2 separate regions of the Homo sapiens genome follow, and region 2 is linked to region 1. The links are contacts of gene promoters, found by promoter capture Hi-C in blood cells and fetal thymus (Javierre and others, 2016). All regions are on one chromosome and are shown on one strand. The core of a region is centred on a gene start or on the middle of the fragment in contact, and the rest is flanking DNA. Distances in the headings are between cores, read along the strand shown.

Region 1 (4,320 bases), core at 1,341-3,840:
AAAGGTGCAAACGGTCCTGCAGGCAACATAAGACGTATGTGCTTCGTGAGTCAATTGTTATTGGACACAGAAAAGTGACTTTGAGAGAAGTTTGAAACATTTTCCTCTCAAACTTTTTTTTTTTTTTAAAGGTTCATTATTGCTTTCTACCTGCTTAAGACAAAGCAGGGGTGTGAGTTCAAGGTGGGTTGGTTTTTTTTGTTTTTTTTGTTTTTTTTTTTTAACCATTAAAAGGGAATTGCTTTGTGGTTATAATATGTTTCTTGCAACTTAGTAAGCCTTAACATGAAAGTGTCTGCTGAACGACCTGAATGGTAAATATATATATATAAATGAGTTAATGCATATGAAGCATTTAGCACTGTTCCTGGCAAATAAGAGGCCTTAAATAAAAGACAGCAACTCTAAGACTCAGGTAAGATCACCTCCTTCAAATAACCCCAGAAACACCTTCCTTACAGATACCCTCTTTTAATTTCAGCCCATGGCTTATGCTACTACATTTACAGATTGTGAGTTCTTAGGGACCAGAAACCTGGTGAGATGGGAAGGGTGGTAAAAGACAAGGTCAGAAAAGGCAGGGCCAGATCGTATAAGGCTTTAGTCCAAGAAAAAAGACTGGATTTTATTCTGCATGGAATGGAAAGCCATTGAAAGGTTCTAAGCAAGAAAGTAAAGTGTTCTGATTTATATTTTTAAAAGATTAAGCTGGTTTCTGTGTAGAAAGCTGTTTTGCTTGGTTTGGGTTGGGGTGGAGATGGGGGCAGGAAGGTAAAAGTGGAAGCACAGATAACCAGGGAGTAGATTACTGCAGTGTTACAAGTTAGAGATGAGGGTGTCTTGTATTAAGACGGTGATAACAAAAAGAAGTGGAGAGATTCCAAATACATTTTTGCCAATGTGAAACTAAGAAATCTATTATATAATAAAGTATACACATGCTTAGGATTATAAAAATTAAACTTACTTTAGATACTTGGCATATTCTGGGTCTTTCCAGTAAAGCAAGTATTTAAGATAATTAACAAAAGCTTTGTCTTTGAAGTAACCTCTTTGGGCAAGAACTGAAAAGCATTAAAAAAAAAAATCTGTAGGTCAAACCAATCCTTAAACTGTGATTTGTTACCCCTAATATAAAGGATCTATTTACATAACACCCCCACCACCAACACACATTGGATTCAAAACACAAGTCCCAGTACGCAATTATATCTATATACCAGCATAAGTGTAATGTCATTCAACTGAGAATGTGTAAAAGTAGATACTATTTTGAACTGCAACTCTTCTGTCAGAAATCATTAATAGCTACTCAATTTAATGAGGTGCTTAACAACTTACAATTAAGGTAATTTGGGTTGGCTAAACATTGCACAAATTCCAACTCCAACTGAAACCGAAGTCGATTTCCAGCATCATCTAGGAGACAAGACAGCAAAAATCATGGAAAACAAAGGTCACTGTATATAATACTGATTTGTAGTAAGGAAAGAGCAATAAAGAAACCTGACTAATGTTGAGATGGTCTTCCTAAACTAGGAGTGGGAGGAGATAAACCTTCCTTCGAAATCTAAGAAAAGCGGAGCCCTGATTAAAAGGAGTAAGTTAGAAGTTTCTCTAAAGTTAAAGAGAAATCATCAAAGAAAACAGCAACACAAACGGAGAATTCCTACCACTCGTGGGCCACTATGTAGGAATTTTAACAGTGATCACTAAGGTAGGCTGTAATAACTGTGGCTTCCCCTATTTTAATAATGCGTTGTAACAACTGTTAACAGTGATTAAGTTTCGCAAACGCTAGGGGCTGAATCAGTAAAGAAAAACTTAGGATGCAAGAGACTGCGGAGAGCCTAAAAGATCATGCAGCGCATGCATATAAGAAGCACCAGGGTCAGGAGATCGAGACCATCCTGGCTAACACAGTGAAACCCCGTCTCTACTAAAAATACAAAAAAAATTAGCCGGGAGCGGTGGCGGGCTCCTGTAGTCCCAGCTACTTGAGAGGCTGAGGCAGGAGAATGGCGTGAACCCAGGAGGCGGAGCTTGCAGTGAGCCGAGATCGCGCCACTGCACCCCAGCCTGGGCGACAGAGCCAGACGCTGTCTCAAAAAAAAAAAAAAAAAGAAGCACCAGTAGCAGAATGATACACAAGTCTGGCGACGATATTTCAAACTTAGGCAAGCTCATGTGAGAAGCAGAAAACCAATCAAGGAGGACACGGTTTAACACACAAGTCCTCTCCCTTAGTCTCACCCACGCCAGGGAGCTGGTGGGGTGGTGTCTGAATAGCAAAGATGTGCGAACAAACCAAATCAGGAAAACTGCAAAGAGTACCTTAGTCTTTCTAGACGCTACAAGAGCCTTCTCTCCTCTCTGTCCAAATATTAACCCTGCCAAGAGTAAGGCCTGGAAGGAGGCCACGGGGAAGAGGTCTGGGTCAAGGAGAGTTCCATCTGCGAAGACTCCAAGATCAGAGAGCTACTCACCTGTCTCCATAGCGACAGCAGCGGCCATAACAAACGAAGACACCAAAACGCCACCAGCCTGACAGAGCAAAAGCCCAGAGACGCGGGCGAAGTTCCGGAAACCACGGCTCCCTCTTCCGGTCCCGGGGCACTGTGGGATATGGGGCGGGGCGGCTCCGCCCATCCCCGACCAGCCCTGGGATGGCTCCACCCGCGCTGGCTCCAAAATAGCGAGGGGGCGGGGCCCGGGCCGTGGGAGCGCCTGAGGGGCAGGAGTCCAGTGTTTTAGCCTTCGAAGGACCATGGTGCTTCCACGTCATCGTGTTGTGGCGCTCCCGGCTATGGCAGTACCGTAGTTTTCCTCTCTTCTGCCTGCGGTGACCATTGGGCTGTAGGGTGCCCCGAGGCCTCCCTGGCCCCCTCACGCCGGCAGAATGGCCTCAGCCCGAGGGGCCAAGCAGTCTTCGCCCCGGGTGGGGACCACCCGCTACACAGAGACGTCCACGGTCCGCGTGGAGACCTCGTCCCACCGCGTGGAGACGTCGTCCCGGCGGGTGGAGACCTCCCAGCGCCGCAGCGAGGGGCCCTCCCTCTCCCCCTCGGGGAAGCGGCTCCCTCGCATCCTCGAGGCGTCCTCCCGGCACGTGGAATCCTCCTCGCAGCGCACGGAAACGACCTCCCGCCACGTCAGAGCCTCGTCCCTGAGGGTGGAGACGTCTCTGCACTGCGCGGAGAGCCCGACCCCGCGGGCCAAGCCGGCCGCCCGCCAGAACGAAAAAACGGCCCGATGAGATGCTGCTTCCCAAAGGCCACCAAGGGGCCAGGGCCCTCAGCCAGGACAGAAAGGCCTCCAGTTGCCAGCCAGCCAGCCAGCTGCCAGGTGGACCAATCATTTTCGGTTTCATGGAAACAAACCATAAATCAATGTAAGAAACAGCCAAGCCGCAGTTTCTGAACACAGCCAACGTTTACTGACCGTCCTGCGTCTTGGACCAGCCTACTTTTGACCCAGTGAACTATTTTCACTTGAAGCCAGCACAGAAGGTTTTCAGGCCCAGGATGCTGTCTAAATCGGGTTGATGGACAAAGAGAGGCTGTTTGAGCCTCTGAGCCAGGTGAGTTTGGGATCCACAGCCCTCAGAAAACCTTCACCCCTTAGGAACAGAGACCAAACTGAAATAATGACCTGTGGAATGATTCCATGCCTGCTAAAAACTCGAGGGACAAGGAACAGACTCATAAATTATTAATTGGCCTTTGTTTATGTTTCAAAGTAAATGGTCGTTTTCTTTATGCTAAGTCTTTGTACCTGGCACCCCCATCCATACACTTTTTTAAGGTAGGTTAGATGTGGTTAAAAATGACAGTAAACCCACCAGCAAGCAAAAATAATCTTAGAAAGTGAGAGGAGGTCACTGAAACCTGGCCTGAGGTTTGAAGAAGATGGAGAAGAGTTATATTTATTGAGAACCGGCTCTGTGCCAGGCACTAGATGTTCCTCCACTTACGATGGGGTTACCTCCCGTTGAAACTATTGTAAGTTGAAAATATGGTAATTTGAAAATGCACTTAATACCCCTAACCTACTAAACATCATGGCTTAGCCTAGCCTACCTTAAACATGCTCAGAACACCTAAAGTTGAGCAAAATCATCTAACAGAAAGCCTGTTTTATAATAAAATGTTGAATATCTCATGTAATTTATTGCATACTGTACTAAAAGTGAAAAAGAATGGTTGTAAGAGTACTTAAAGTACTATTTCTACTGAATGTCACTTTTGTACCATTGTAAAGTCGAAAAATCATAAGTCAAACCATCTTAAGTTGGGAACTGTCTGTATTCTGGGAACTTGG
Region 2 (4,320 bases), core at 1,188-3,687, 1.1 Mb before region 1:
ATGAAAAGAAAAATAACCATTTACTGAACATTTATTTTCTTTTAGGTGCATATATTTTAAACTCTCACAACAGTCCTGAGAGATGGGTCTTAATAATATTATTTTGAAAACCATGTTGAAGTAGAGGGGCAATTTTATTCTCTTAGTAGTGAAGAGAGAAGTCATGTGAGGGAGCTGGCTTGGGCCGAGGACTAAGCCTAGCCTCTTCTTGGGGTCTGTCTGGAAAACAGAGTCCTCCTTGGAACTTCTGGACCACCCTGACCCTAAGGATCTTCAGAGCCCATCAATATTATGAGCTGAGTTCTCGGGCAAGGACCATGTCACGAGTTGGGCACCCAGTTGGGGAAGACTCATTGCCTGACCCACATGGGTCTCAGCTTCCCCATCTGCCACATGGGGAGGGATGCAATCTCAGCACCGGAAGGTCCCTGAAAGATCAATTTCAGGCCTACCTCTCACAGCCCATCCTGGCTCCCCTATCCTTCCTCTGCTGTCCCCCATGTCAGGTCCCCATGCACAGACATGATCCTCTGGGTGGGGCCCACCAGCTGATTCACAGCTCCACCCAGGGCTGTCAGCCTGCCTCAGCAAGCCTCACCTCTCCAGCGGCGTCCAGATGTGTCAGGCAGCTGTCTCAAAACCCTTCTCTCTGAGCCCTGGGTGCACCCCGCCGGCAATTCATGGATCCAGGGCATTAGCACTGCGGTGGAGGTGGGTTGGCTGGGAGACCCCAGGTGGGGTTCACTTGGGCTGTAGGGGAATGAGGGAGAGTGGCCTACAGGAAAGAGACAAAGAGGTTGGAGACACATCAGAGGGGCAGGGGCAAGGTGCCAGGGAACTGAGCTGGTCTCCTCTCTCAACCAAGAGAGGTCAGGATACACCAGTGAACCCGCTGCAGCCCTCTACAACTTCCTCTAGAGGCTTGTCTGAAGAATGATGTTCTTATAGATACTGCTAGGCAAAAAATCCTCATCTAGGATCAGGAAATTTGCATATCTGTCTTGGTCCTGACTATCTCCCTGTGTAAATCACTACTCCTACTGAGCCTCAGCTGTGCTTTATTGGGCCAACGGCATCTGCAACCCAGGGTGGCTAATAGTAATAATAACAGCAGCAGCAGCAGCAGCAACAACAGCAATGGGAGATCTTATTTATTGAGCACTTACTGTATATCAGACTCTGTGCTAAATGTTTAACCTGGATGATCTCTTTTAACCCTCACACAGCCCAGGGAGGCGGGCTCTCACTCTCCCATTTTGCAGACAGAGAAATAGGCAGAGAGCAGTGAAGTGATTGGCCCAGGGTGATAGTGCCAGGACTGGTGATAGTGCCTGACTCCCAAGTCCGTGCTCATAACTACAATGCCAGGCGAGTACCGGGAATGCACTTGAATAGAAGAGGGTGTGGGGCTCTGAGGTGCAGCAAGGGCCCCCCCAGCAAGCCTCCTGGCTCCAGCATAGTCTGGGGCCTGGATCCCCCTTTGAGAGGGCAGTTCCATGTCACTGCTCAGAGGAAGGCCTGGCAGGGAGGGCTCAGTGGTGGGGTCCCAAGAGGGCAGGGCAGGCATGAGGGCCAGGGGATGTCCCGCGGGCAGTGGGGTCCTCTGTCCACTCACCTGCCCCTTCCTGGGCTTGGGCGCACAGTGACCTCAGCCCCATCTGCTCCCAGGTATGGAGGGCTAGGTCCCAGGCCCGCTGCTCCCCATACTGAGCCACCAGGTACGAGGCCACCTCCATGCCACTCGTCTTCTCTGGCTGAGCGGGTGTCTCACCCGAAGAGCTCCTGGAGTGCGCTTTATTGGCGAGCAGAAGCTGGAACTCCTTCAGCTCCTCCTTCTTCAGGAACTCCAAGTAACAGGCCAGGCGGCCCCAGGCTCCGCCAGCCATCTCTGTCCCGGAGTTAAGAGGGTGTCTGGGGGATGTTCCCAGGTGGTGAGGGTATCAGGCAGGCAGAGAACAGTGCTGTCCTTTGCCTTGGCTCTTACCGTCTCTTATTCAGCATTCGGAACCCAGTTTTATAAATCCCAGGGCACCTACAGATAGACGCCGATAGAGGGGGAGTGGTAGGAAAAGCCAGGGGAGGGAGGAGCCCAGAGGGGCCTGCAAGACACTGGAAGAAGTCAGCTGATAGGGAGGTCCTGGGATGGGGTCCAGGGCCAGGCAGGGAGGGTGAGGGTGAGGGGAGATGTGGTGACGGGAGATGGGGTGTGGGCAACGCTCACTGTTCTGTGTTCCTCAGATTCTTCCCTCTCCTGGGTCCTGGACTCCTGAGATCAACCCTTGAGCTGCAAGGCTGAGAAGAGGTGGGGTGGGAGGAGCCGCAGAGCAGGGAATGGGCTTTCAGAACCCAGAGTGGAGCCCCGGGCTGCTGGCTCCCAGGTTTCTTCAGACCTCTCCAGGCCCTGGGGCACCAGCCAGCAAGAACAGCGCCTAGTCAACAAGAGCAGGAAGGAAACGTCACCCAGAGGAAACCCACAAGGGGCGTGGCCAGGGGGTAGGATCAAACCAGGCCTGGGTAGGCCAGACTCAGAGTCACAGATTCAGATGGGCCACATGGCATCTATAGGCGGACCAGGAGCACAGGCCCAGACCAGCTGACGCTGCAGCAGGTACAGGCCCATACTAAACACGGTGTGTGCACCTCCACATGGGCACTCCGCCAGCCCATCATCTAGAGCCTGTCTGCAGAGCCAGGATGCAGACTCTCCGAGCAGTTGTGTCTGCAGCCCAGGCCCAGCCTCTCAGGATGGGTGGGGCCCCCTGTGTCTGCCCGGGCAGCTCCTTATTGGGAAACATTAGAACTGGGCCAGGGAGCATTTTTCCCAGCCTCTCATGGTTTTGGGAGCTTCTTGAGTTGCACTGCATGTCCTGCCATGCTACCAGGGGCACTAAAGCATGTGTCCCAGGCCCAGGGGGCTGTTTGCCTTCTGGGCAGCCCAGCACTTAGCTGGTGAACATTTCCACCTGAAAGCAGAACAGCCCCTTCCTCATTCCTGCAAGCAGGCCTCGGGGAGCCAGGGGCAGACTTCCTCTTTCGTGGAATCTGCAAGATGCCAATGACTTCAGGTTGAGGAATGACATTGCCTACTCATTTGCTGATGTAACACACCACCAGGAATTTCTGGAGATGCTTTGGTTTCACTTGGACTGGCAGAGCCCAGGCTTCAACCCACGGCTTGCTTGGACAAGGACTCCTTATGTGCCTGATTTATTTCTTTGAGCCTCAGTTTGCCCATCTATTAAATGGGACATCATAGGTTTACCAAGAGGCTTCAATTCAGCAAAAGGTCTTAGAGTCTCTCTCTCTTTCCCAGGCTGGAGTGCAGTGGCAAGATCTCGGCTCACTGCAAGCTCCCTCCACCTCCTGGGTTCCAGCGATTCTCCTGCATCAGCCCAGCTTCCTGGGCAGTTGGGATTACAGTCACTCACCACCACGCCTGGCTAATTGTTTTGTATTTTTAGTAGAGATGGGGTTTCACCATGTTAGCCAGTCTGATCCGAGGTGATCCGCCCACTTCGGCCTCCCGAAATGTTGGGATTACAGGTGTGAGCCTCCGTGCCTGGCCTAAATAAATTTTATAAATGTTAGTTTTAAAAAATGGCTAATAAGCACATTGTAGGACATTCTAATATCAGATTGACCAGAAGTGGAAAAGTGCTGTGCTAAAAGTGGGATGATCGGGAGGCTCTGAGCACTCCGTGAAGGACCGTGAGACTCCATGTAGCGGGAGGAATGGCCTGGAGGAGGGCTGTGTGGGCTTTTTTTCCTCCTCACACCAGCCAGTTCTGGCACCAACTCTCTAGACACCAACTGGTGTCCTACAGTGCAATTCTGACACTGACTGCCTGGAGTTGGCATCAAACCTCACAGGTTTAGGGTTTCAGTGAAGAGCTGGCCTCATATCAGATGCCAGTTGCAAATGGGGTGCCCAGACCACTGGCATCTCTGTCTGACTTGGTGACAAATTCAAGGGTTCCCACAGTCCCCGGCAGGTTCAATAATTTGCTGAAATGACTCACAGGACTGAGAAAAGCACTTTATTTATTATTATCGGTTCATGATGGAGGATACGACTCAGGAATAGCCCAACGGAAGAGATGCCGAGGTCAAGGTGTGGGTGGGGGAGGGGCACAGCGCTTCCTTGCCCTCCCGGGCACCCTACTCTCCCTGCCCCTCCCTGCTTCACTAACCTGGAAGCTCTCCAAACCCCAAACAAACAAGACTGTGGGGTTTTCTCGGAGGTTTCACTTCACAGGCATAATTCATTAAATCACTGGCCGCTGGAGATCCACTCAACCTGTTAAATAGATCAGAAACCTG

Evidence for each region. The method cuts DNA at HindIII sites, captures the fragments that hold promoters and counts their contacts. A CHiCAGO score of 5 or more calls a contact.
Region 2: the fragment with the promoter of NLRP1 here is called in contact with the fragment with the promoter of MED31 in region 1 in 5 of 17 cell types (M2 macrophages, naive CD4 T cells, M0 macrophages and 2 more); the score reaches 7.6 in M2 macrophages.

The regions. Positions count from the first base shown.
Region 1 is chr17:6,649,015-6,653,334 of GRCh38, forward strand. MED31 (mediator complex subunit 31) reads right to left here and starts at 2,591. Exons shown (of 4, transcript NM_016060.3): 1 at 2,487-2,591; 2 at 1,342-1,419; 3 at 968-1,064. The coding sequence starts at 2,514. It overlaps C17orf100 (chromosome 17 open reading frame 100), which reads left to right and starts at 2,748. Exons shown (of 1, transcript NM_001105520.2): 1 at 2,748-4,320. The coding sequence starts at 2,900. The coding sequence ends at 3,256. RefSeq lists enhancers at 2,006-2,065, 2,156-2,235, 2,306-2,435 and silencers at 2,686-2,765, 3,066-3,115. The HindIII fragment of the contact is 11,591 bases long and covers 1,030-4,320 here.
Region 2 is chr17:5,582,072-5,586,391 of GRCh38, forward strand. It overlaps NLRP1 (NLR family pyrin domain containing 1), which reads right to left and starts at 2,438. Exons shown (of 17, transcript NM_033004.4): 1 at 1,616-2,438; 2 at 599-775. The coding sequence starts at 1,886. RefSeq lists enhancers at 1,776-2,975, 2,247-2,506, 2,527-2,826. The HindIII fragment of the contact is 12,933 bases long and covers 1-4,320 here.